Regions from separate parts of the Homo sapiens genome. Here all the other regions are linked to region 1. Evidence: promoter capture Hi-C in 16 types of primary human blood cells and fetal thymus (Javierre and others, 2016). All regions are on one chromosome and are shown on one strand. The core of a region is centred on a gene start or on the middle of the fragment in contact, and the rest is flanking DNA. Distances in the headings are between cores, read along the strand shown.

What was found. Contacts are between HindIII fragments. The CHiCAGO score rates a contact against its expected background, and 5 or more counts as called.
Region 2: a contact is called between a fragment that was not itself captured here and the fragment with the promoter of TMEM128 in region 1, in 1 of 17 cell types (total CD8 T cells). The highest score is 5.2, in total CD8 T cells.
Region 3: a contact is called between a fragment that was not itself captured here and the fragment with the promoter of TMEM128 in region 1, in 2 of 17 cell types (total CD8 T cells and naive CD8 T cells). The highest score is 5.6, in total CD8 T cells.

The regions. Positions count from the first base shown.
Region 1 is chr4:4,246,846-4,249,697 of GRCh38, forward strand. It overlaps TMEM128 (transmembrane protein 128), which reads right to left and starts at 1,378. Exons shown (of 5, transcript NM_001297551.2): 1 at 1,261-1,378. The coding sequence starts at 1,357. RefSeq lists enhancers at 720-1,346, 1,649-1,758. The HindIII fragment of the contact is 7,732 bases long and covers 1-2,852 here.
Region 2 is chr4:4,568,467-4,571,318 of GRCh38, forward strand. The region is part of intron 2 of LOC124900165; the gene reads left to right. All of the region lies in intron 2 of STX18-AS1 (STX18 antisense RNA 1 (head to head)), which reads left to right. It overlaps LINC03091 (long intergenic non-protein coding RNA 3091), which reads right to left. Exons shown (of 5, transcript NR_199719.1): 3 at 353-480. Among named protein-coding and RNA genes, the nearest start is that of LINC03091, 6.0 kb to the right of the region's middle. The HindIII fragment of the contact is 2,011 bases long and covers 414-2,424 here.
Region 3 is chr4:4,527,536-4,530,387 of GRCh38, forward strand. The region is part of intron 1 of STX18 (syntaxin 18); the gene reads right to left. LOC107986254 (a long non-coding RNA gene) reads right to left here and starts at 1,608. Exons shown (of 2, transcript XR_001741564.2): 1 at 914-1,608; 2 at 1-212. The HindIII fragment of the contact is 1,660 bases long and covers 594-2,253 here.

The DNA.
Region 1 (2,852 bases), core at 128-2,627:
CAAGCAATTCTCCTGCCTCAGCCTCCCGAGTACCTGGGATTACAGGCGCCTGCCACCACGCCGGGCTAATTTTTGTATTTTTAGTAGAGACGGGGTTTCACCATCTTGGCCAGGCTGCTCTATTTGGCCAGGTTGGTCTCGAACTCCTGACCTCGTGATCAGCCCGCCTCAGCCTCTCAAAGTGCTGGGATTACAGGCGTGAGCTACCCTGCCCAGCCTATAACTAAATATTTTAGTTACTTTAAACACAGCTCAAAAGTGGAAACGGCACACCAGAGCTCTAGTTCCAGCACAGCACTGTCTAGACAGGTGATGGACAAGACATTTTTCCTGTCTGGAACGCAATCTGAAAGAATGGGTGGATGGGGGTTGGGTCAGATGGATGATTTCTATTAAGTTTTCCGGGGATTCTGACATGCCCTCTAGGTTCACGTGAGAATCAATGGTCCACATCTGAGGTTTTGGGCCTTTAGATGACCATCGGAAACCCTGGGAAGCATGTTCGTAATATTCTGGGATATCCTCAAAATGTATACATCATCATGCCTGGGCATGAGGTTATTCGTGTTTTTAATTTTAAAAGGTAATAAATGGACGTGGTTTTAAAACATATGAGATAAAAAATATCCAAAATGAAGTATCTGTCTCCCATCCTTAACCTCAGATCTAATCCCCAGAAGCAACCACCACTTACAATTTCTACTGAATTCTTCCATATTCTATGCATTCACAGGTGAACATACATCACAAGTTACCTGTTTTGTACCCAAATGGCGGCATACCATAGTGTTCCACACTTCCCTTTGAAAATCATCCCCATTGGTACATACGAGTCGACCTGATGTGTCAGGTATACATATACCCAAATTTACTTAAACAGCTTTCTGCTGACGGGCAAGGCAGATATTTCCAGTAATTCGCTATTACAAGCAATCCTGAAGTGAAACACTGCGCACATCATTGTACACTGCGGTACACGCATGTTTCTGGTAAATCCTTAAGACTTAAAACTGGTGGGTATTTTTAATTTTAATCGCTATTTCCAAATAGGTGTCAAATCAGCTCTCCAGAGAATTCTGAAGCGCAGCTGAAATGACGATGCACAGCACTCCGCGATTCTAAGGATCTTCCCTGACATTAAATATTCGACTTGCAAAGCCGAAACTCAGTCCTTCCAGACTGGGCCAGGGCTGCCGGAGGCCGGCCGTTTTCCGACGCCTCGCCTCTGAGAACCTCGGGGCGGCTTGGTGCGCGCCTCACCCGGCCCGGCGTCACCCTCGCGGTCCAGCTGGGCCTCGGCGTCCGGCAGGAGGAGGAATCGCCGCCGGAGCTGCTGCCGGGCCCGCGAGGAGTCCATCTTGGTACCGCCCCGAAATGCGACGGAAGTGACGTCAGACACAGCGCTTCCGGCGTCCGCTCCGGGTCTGGACCTCCTGGCGTTTGGATTGGAGACTGTGTTCTCTTCGCTGTTTAGTTAGCGAGCAGCTAGGGTGGAGTCGGCCTCAAAGGTTCCGCTCTCATGTCGGCAAGTGTGATTTGAATTTTAAAACACTGAGCTTTGCCGGTGGAAGAGTTCCCAAGTTTATTCCGACCTACGGAAGCCCAGGAGGACCAGGATTACCGCTGCCGCTGGATGCGTCCAGGGCCGGGATGCGCGACCGTGAGACGCTGCGCTTCCGAAGCCCTCGCAGGCTTCCGGGTGCCAGAGCAGGAGACATACCCTCTGTCCAGCCTTCCACTCTCAGCCCCCAGTTTTTTTCCTACTTTTGCTTTTCAGGAGTCGTCCAGCAAGACTTGAAAGGAGGAGAAAGGCCTGCTGGACAGGATGCTAGAGCCTGGCAGTGACCACTTGGGGGCCCTGGGCATTAAATAAACTTCTTGGGGCCCGTTTCGTTATTACACTTGGCTCTAGATTTGTTGTGCGTTTCAGTGAGAAGTACCTGTATGTGGTTCATGTGAGCCTCCTCCTCGCCACTTGTGAAAAATCCTCCCAGCCTGAACCGAGGGAACTAAATTGCTTTCCCAGCAAACTGCGGTTTTCCACACTGCTCACGCCCACAAACTGTGTGTTACGAGTTCACAACTTTTTCTTCGTCAATAATCCCGCGTATTACTCTCCCAGCCGTTTCCCAGCGTGTCATGTGCTGAGAAATGGTGGGCTTAGCCACGCAAACGTTTACTGAGCATCTACTATTTGGTAGGAGCTGTTAGGCACCATGCTAGCAGTGGAGATAAAGATGAGTAAGACATGGCCTTGCACGTGAGGAGCTCCTTGTCCAAAGAAAACCACAGAGGTATATTACAAGAAAACTCTATTTGTAAATGTATGAAAGCATTTCATCAATGCAGCCAACATTTTCTGAGCAGCTGCATGTGATAAAATGGTGAGGACAGAAGAATCTAGTAGAGGAAGCAGCTTCAATACAGTGCCATAATAAAAACACTGTACATGGGGCATAATAGAAACACTGTACATATAAAGGGCAGTTTATTCTGCTGCAGTGTGGGAGAGCAGGGAGAGTGGTTTCAGGTGAGTTGAATACAGGGGTGGAGAGCCAGCTACATAGGAAGTAAAATTTGAATTAGTAGGCACTGTTTAATATCTTCGATGTGTTGGGGTGTTTGTAAAAGGAATGTAATAAGAAATACTCAAGAAAAGAGTGCCAGCCGCGCGCGGTGGCTCACGCCTGTAATCCCAACACTTTGCGAGGCCGAGGCGGGCGGATCACAAGGTCAGGCGTTTGAGACCAGCCTGGCCAACATGGCGAAACCCCGTCTCTACTAAAAATACAAAAGTTAGCCGGGAATGGTGGCCGGCACCTGTAATCCCAGCTACTCTGGAGGCTGAGGCA
Region 2 (2,852 bases), core at 169-2,668, 320 kb after region 1:
GGGCAAATCTCATGCAAAACACGAGTGGGACTGGTACCAACGTCAAAGAAGAGACACTTTGGAATCCAGCCTCTGTCACCAGGAGCTTCCCCTCCAGGCCTCTGGCAGAGAGGTGTGGTCCTTCCTCCCTGATCTTTCATCTCTTGGAATCTCTAGTTGCTAGGCGCGGGTGAACAGTGTCAAAACCCAGCCCATGATAGATTTATCATCCCCCTTACTGAGAACTGCCTATGGCCACATACTGTGCTTAGCATGTACACATTTTGGTTTATATAAACCTTCCAACAAGGTGCCAGGTGGGTAACGTGATTGAGATTAGGAAACTCAGGCTGAGGAAAGTTAAGTCACTTACTCAGTGTCACCTGGGAATAAGTGGCAGGGCTGGGGTTAGAACTCCCATCTGTCTGGCTTCAAGCTTATGTGCTTTCCATTATGTGCAGCCACCCTGCCAACTACTCAGCAGGGGCCTTCTGATGGACACTGTGAGAGGACAAGACACAAAAGAAATGTATACAATGGAGAAGACAATGATACAAATGATACAAAGGAGAAGACAATGGGCTTCTCCTTTGCCCCTGAGACTTCCTTTGAAAAATAATTTGCAAAATCCCGCTCCCTGTGCCTTGCTCTAGAGTTTGAAGGCTTGGGCCTGTGAACAGTGAGCTCTCAGGAGGCACAGATCGCTCCCTTAGGCACCATGCTTGAGACTTGACCACATTTCAGGCTGGCTCCGCCTGCTCTAGGCTGTGTCTCTAAAGGTGGCCCCACCCCTGCCTTGCACTAAGTCTTTACTCAAGAAAATGCAATGCTACCAAACCACAAAATGTGCATTGTCCCAACCCAGCTTGCACCAAATTGTTTTCAGGAATTCTCTAGTGACCCCTTCTGTAATTTCCATTTCCACATAAACCCCAGGCCCTTTTTGTTCCCCCTTCTTCACTTCCCCAGCATCCCTTTTTGTTCTCTCTCTGTTCTCCCTTCAGAAGCCTCAGTCCCCTTTAATTGGGGCTGAGTTCTGTCTGACCTGGAATCTCCCCCAAAGCAGGAGTCTGAATAAAACCTGTCTTGCCACCTTTCACAAGTGTTTTGCGCTGTGTGTGTGTGTGTGTGTGTGTGTTTTTTTTTTTTTTCATTGATAGTTCAAATCCTATTTCCTCTGGGTATTGTCTGTGTGTCCTTGGGTGAATCACTTCACTTCTCTGAGTCTCAACTTCCTCATCTTCAAAATGAGAACGTAGGTAGGCCCACCTTGCTGCAAGGTGATGAGGGAAGGCCCTCGCCAGGGGCCTGTCACTCCTTACTCAGGAATAATCACTGACCCATCCCCACAGTGCTGGAACTCTTCTAGGCATTGGGAGTAGAGAGAAGCAACACAGAGTTCCTGCCCACAGAGAGTGGACTTTCTAGTGAAGAAACAAACAACACACAGGGAAACCTATCTGTATTTGTCTGTTTTCATGCTGCTGATAAAGACATACCTGAGACTGGGCAGTTTACAAAAGGAAGAAAGGTTTAATGGACTTACAGGTTCACATGGCTGGAGAGGCTTCACAATCATGGTGGAAGGCAAGGAGGAGCAAGTCACGTCTTACATGGATGGCAGCAGGCAAAGAGAGAGCTTGTGCAGGGAAACTCCCATTTTTAAAACCATCAGATCTCACGAGACGTATTCACTATCGCAAGACCAGCACAGGAAAGACCTGCCCCCATGATTCAATTACCTCCTACTGTGTCCCTCCCACAACATGTAGGAATTCAAGATGAGATTTGGATGGGGACACAGCCAAACCATATTACCATCTTAAAATATCAAGCAGTGAAAGCATGATGAAGAAAGTTAACACAGGTGGAGGGATGCAGGTGACCAGGAGGAGGAGGAGCTATTTTCCAAGACCTCTCTGATGGGGGACATTTGCACAGGGAGCACCATGTAGAAATCTTGAGGGTTCACACTCCAAGCAAAGAGAAGAGCAAGTGCAAAGGCCCAGAGGCAGGAGAGCACTGGACCTGTTCCAGAAACCTCCAGCAGGCCAATGTAGCTGAAACACAGCCAGGCACAGGGGCTGAGACAGGAGGTGGGCCAGGCCATCTAGGGCTCAGGGACCATGGTCAGGACTCTATATTCATCCCAAAGGTGATAGGGAAGCACTAAGGTTACAGTGTAACCATATCCATGTCTCAATCACCTGCCTAACTCTACTAGAAGGAGGGAACGTGTCAGTGCTGGTTGAATTGTGACTTTCTCATGGGGTAGGGGGTGGGTTATAGGAACATGAGATATAAAACGTACCAGAAAAGGTATCCAACCTCTAGGCGTCCCCCTCCTTGGACACCTTCAGGTTCCATGGCGATATGATTTGGCTCTGTGTCCCCACCCAAATCTCATCTCAAATCGTAATCTGAGCAGTGGAGTAATATGATCTAAGCTTTATACATCCTATATATTTAACACCATCTCAAATTTACAAAAAAAGTTACAAGTATGGGACAAATAATTTTTGTCCCTGAGTCATCTGAAAGTAAGCTGCCAGCATGATGCCTGTCACCCCTGGACACTTTACTATGCATTTCCAACAAACAGAGAGAATGACCATCAAAATCACGACGTTCACAACATGCATTTTTACCATTTGAACCTCAGACCACATTCAGGTTTCATCCTTTGTCCCAATAATGTTCTTTATAACAAAAGGAGCCAGGGTGGAATCACACATTGCCTTTAGATATCAAGCTCCTTTAGTCTCCTTCAGTCTGAAATGTTTTCTCAGTCTTTCTGTGATTTTCGTGACCTTGACTCTTTTGAAGATGACTGGCCAATCATTTGATAGAATATCCTTCAATCTGCATTTGTC
Region 3 (2,852 bases), core at 174-2,673, 280 kb after region 1:
TCCACTGAAACAAAAACTGGAGAAGGACAAGGCAGCTTGATTCAGGATCTGATAATGGGTTACAGATTCCATTTCAGTTCAGATTTGCAGTCAACATGCCACAGAGTCATTTACCAGGTCATATTTGGAGGGAAAGTATGAACTGCCACGTCACTGAGAGAAAAATCTGTGTGAGCCTAAAATACTTGACTTTTCCCACTGTAATGCTGAGCCTAAGGAAGAAAGATAGAGAAAAAAATTATATATATATAATTTTATATATATATATGTTTTTATATATATATAATTTTATATATATATGTCTTTATATATATATACACACACACACACACATATATATATATATTAAAAACTACCTTAAATTAAAAGGCAGTGATGATTTGGCCCAAGTTCTGGGCATGGGGAAGACATCCCTTAGCCACTGTCTTTCAGGGTCACCCTGAGTGAGGCTGCAATGCTGCCTTGTCCATTGCTGGCTGGTACTAGCCTACTGGCTAAATCATCCTAACCCCCAGGATGCTAGACTTACACAGCGGAAAAATTCTAGAGCTGGTGGGCAGACACCTAACCTGAGTCATGGGCTGTGGATGCAAAGCTTCTACCCAGTTCCCAAGCCAACTCCTCTTTTCCAGCCTTCCCATCTCCTGCTGGAGCCTCCCATTAGTTGACCCCTATCAGAAGCCAGGGGGCAAGGAAACCCCACTATGCAGCCCATAAAGATCAGCCTCTTGATGTGATCCCCAATATTGGAGGGGGGGCCTGCTGGGAGGTGTTGGATCATGAGGGTTGATCCCTCATGAATGGCTTAGCGCTGTCCCCTTGGTGATAAGTGAATTCTTGCTCAGTTCACACAAGATCTGCTTGTTTAAAAGAGTCTGGGACCTCCCCCTTCTCTCTTCTTGTTCTCTCTCACCATGTGACACTCTTGCTCCCCCTTCACCTCCTGCCATGATTGTGAGCTTCCTGAGGCTTCACAAAAGCAGATGCCGATGCCATGCTTCTCGTACAGTCTGCAGAATCATAAGCCAAAATTAACCTCTTTTCGTTATAAATTACCCAGCTCCAGGTATTCCTTTATGGCAATGCAAAAAATGAACTAATACAGGTTGTGTGGCTAAACTGCATCTTTCGGATTGAGGCCCCCAGGTACTAGGAGAACTGCCTGCTGCTGGCTCACAGCCGAGTGTGTCTCAAGCAGCAGGAAGGTGCCTCACCCAACACTAGGGCCCTTCCCTGGGAGAAGCCCACAGACAATGGCTGGCCAATGCAGTGGTTAAAAAGCCCTGGCCCTTTGCCTCAATTGGGCAATTCTAAAAAGCCATCTCAGCTCCAGAGATCTCCACGGAACTGACCATTTAATGAACAAATAAAATCAAAAACTGGTATCCCAACAACAGAAAAGGGAATTACAATTTTTTTTCAAATGTCTATAATCCATAAATTGGGTCTCCTTCCCTCTCAATGATTTTACTAACTAAAACCACAAATCCTTTTCTCTTTTCCCCAAAAGCAAACCACAACACTTATCTTTAAGAAACGCATGGTTGGCCAGGTATGGTGGCTCACACCTGTAATCCCAGCACTTTCGGAGGCTGAGACGGGCGGATCACGAGGTCAGGAGATCGAGACTATCCTGGCTAACACGGTGAAACCCTGTCTCTACTAAAAATACACAAATTAGCCGGGAATGGTGGCTGGTGCCTGTAGTCCCAGCTGCTCAGGAGGCTGAGGCACGAGAATGGAGTGAACCAGGGAGGCGGAGCTTGCAGTGAATCAAGATCGCGCCACTGCACTCCAGCCTGGGCGAGACTCCGTCTCAAAAAAAAGAAAGAAAAGAAATGCACGGTCACAAGGTAATTGTTGATTAAAAGAAAAAGGTTGGTTTGGAAGCAGCCATATTTCCCCAAAAGTTAGTCAAGCACTTTCAAATATATAATGTATGCACCAAAATATGCTCCTAAAGACAGCAGATGATGTGATAACATACTAAAGAGCAAATCCCCAGAGGCGTGGTCTGTGGAATGCCAAGTGGAGCACAGTTCCCAGCCTGGGACACACTTGCCACAGGACACCTGTGCATGCCCAAGAGCTGGGGAGGCAGCAGGCAACCGGAGAAGCACAGCACACACGTGCCAGGACTACTCATCTCACAGCACCAGGGACGTCATCTTGGGAGATAGCTTACCCTTCTGAACCTCGGTTTCTTCATGAATAAAGGAGCCTAACTTGAAAGGATAGTCAAATAAATTATAAAGCTTTTACCACAGGGCCAGGTACAGTAGGTGCTCAACAAGTGGTAGCCATTATTATCATTTATTATGCTTTAGAATAACAACCAGAAACTAAGACATCAATGCAACATTTGTGGATGATTTTCTCATATAGATTAAGAAAGTCTGGATTGGAAATCCAGCTGAGTTACAGGAAAATTACTCCCTTTACAAAAGATTTTACCACAGACTTCCTTTAAATAGCCCCCACCCCTCCACTGCACATTTAATATAGAATTAGATATTGCTTGCTCATAACATTTTTCTAATCAAAAGCTATTAATTCTCCATTTCCTACCACAGCAAATAAAAACTCATCTGCCAGGAGTTTTACTTGTTCTGTTTTGCTTTTCATTTCAAAAGTAAATGTGCTCATTAAAGAAATTCTGGATGATAGAAGCAGAAAAATAAATCACCCAAGTCCCATCACTCAGAAAAAGCCATGGTTAACATTTTGGTGAGTTCCCTTCCAGTCATTTCCATGCCTAGAGTTTTTTGGGTTTGCATACATAGTTTTAATTGTAATTGGTTTGGGTAGTTATTTTTTTAAGCTAACATAATAATATAAGCATATATTAATTA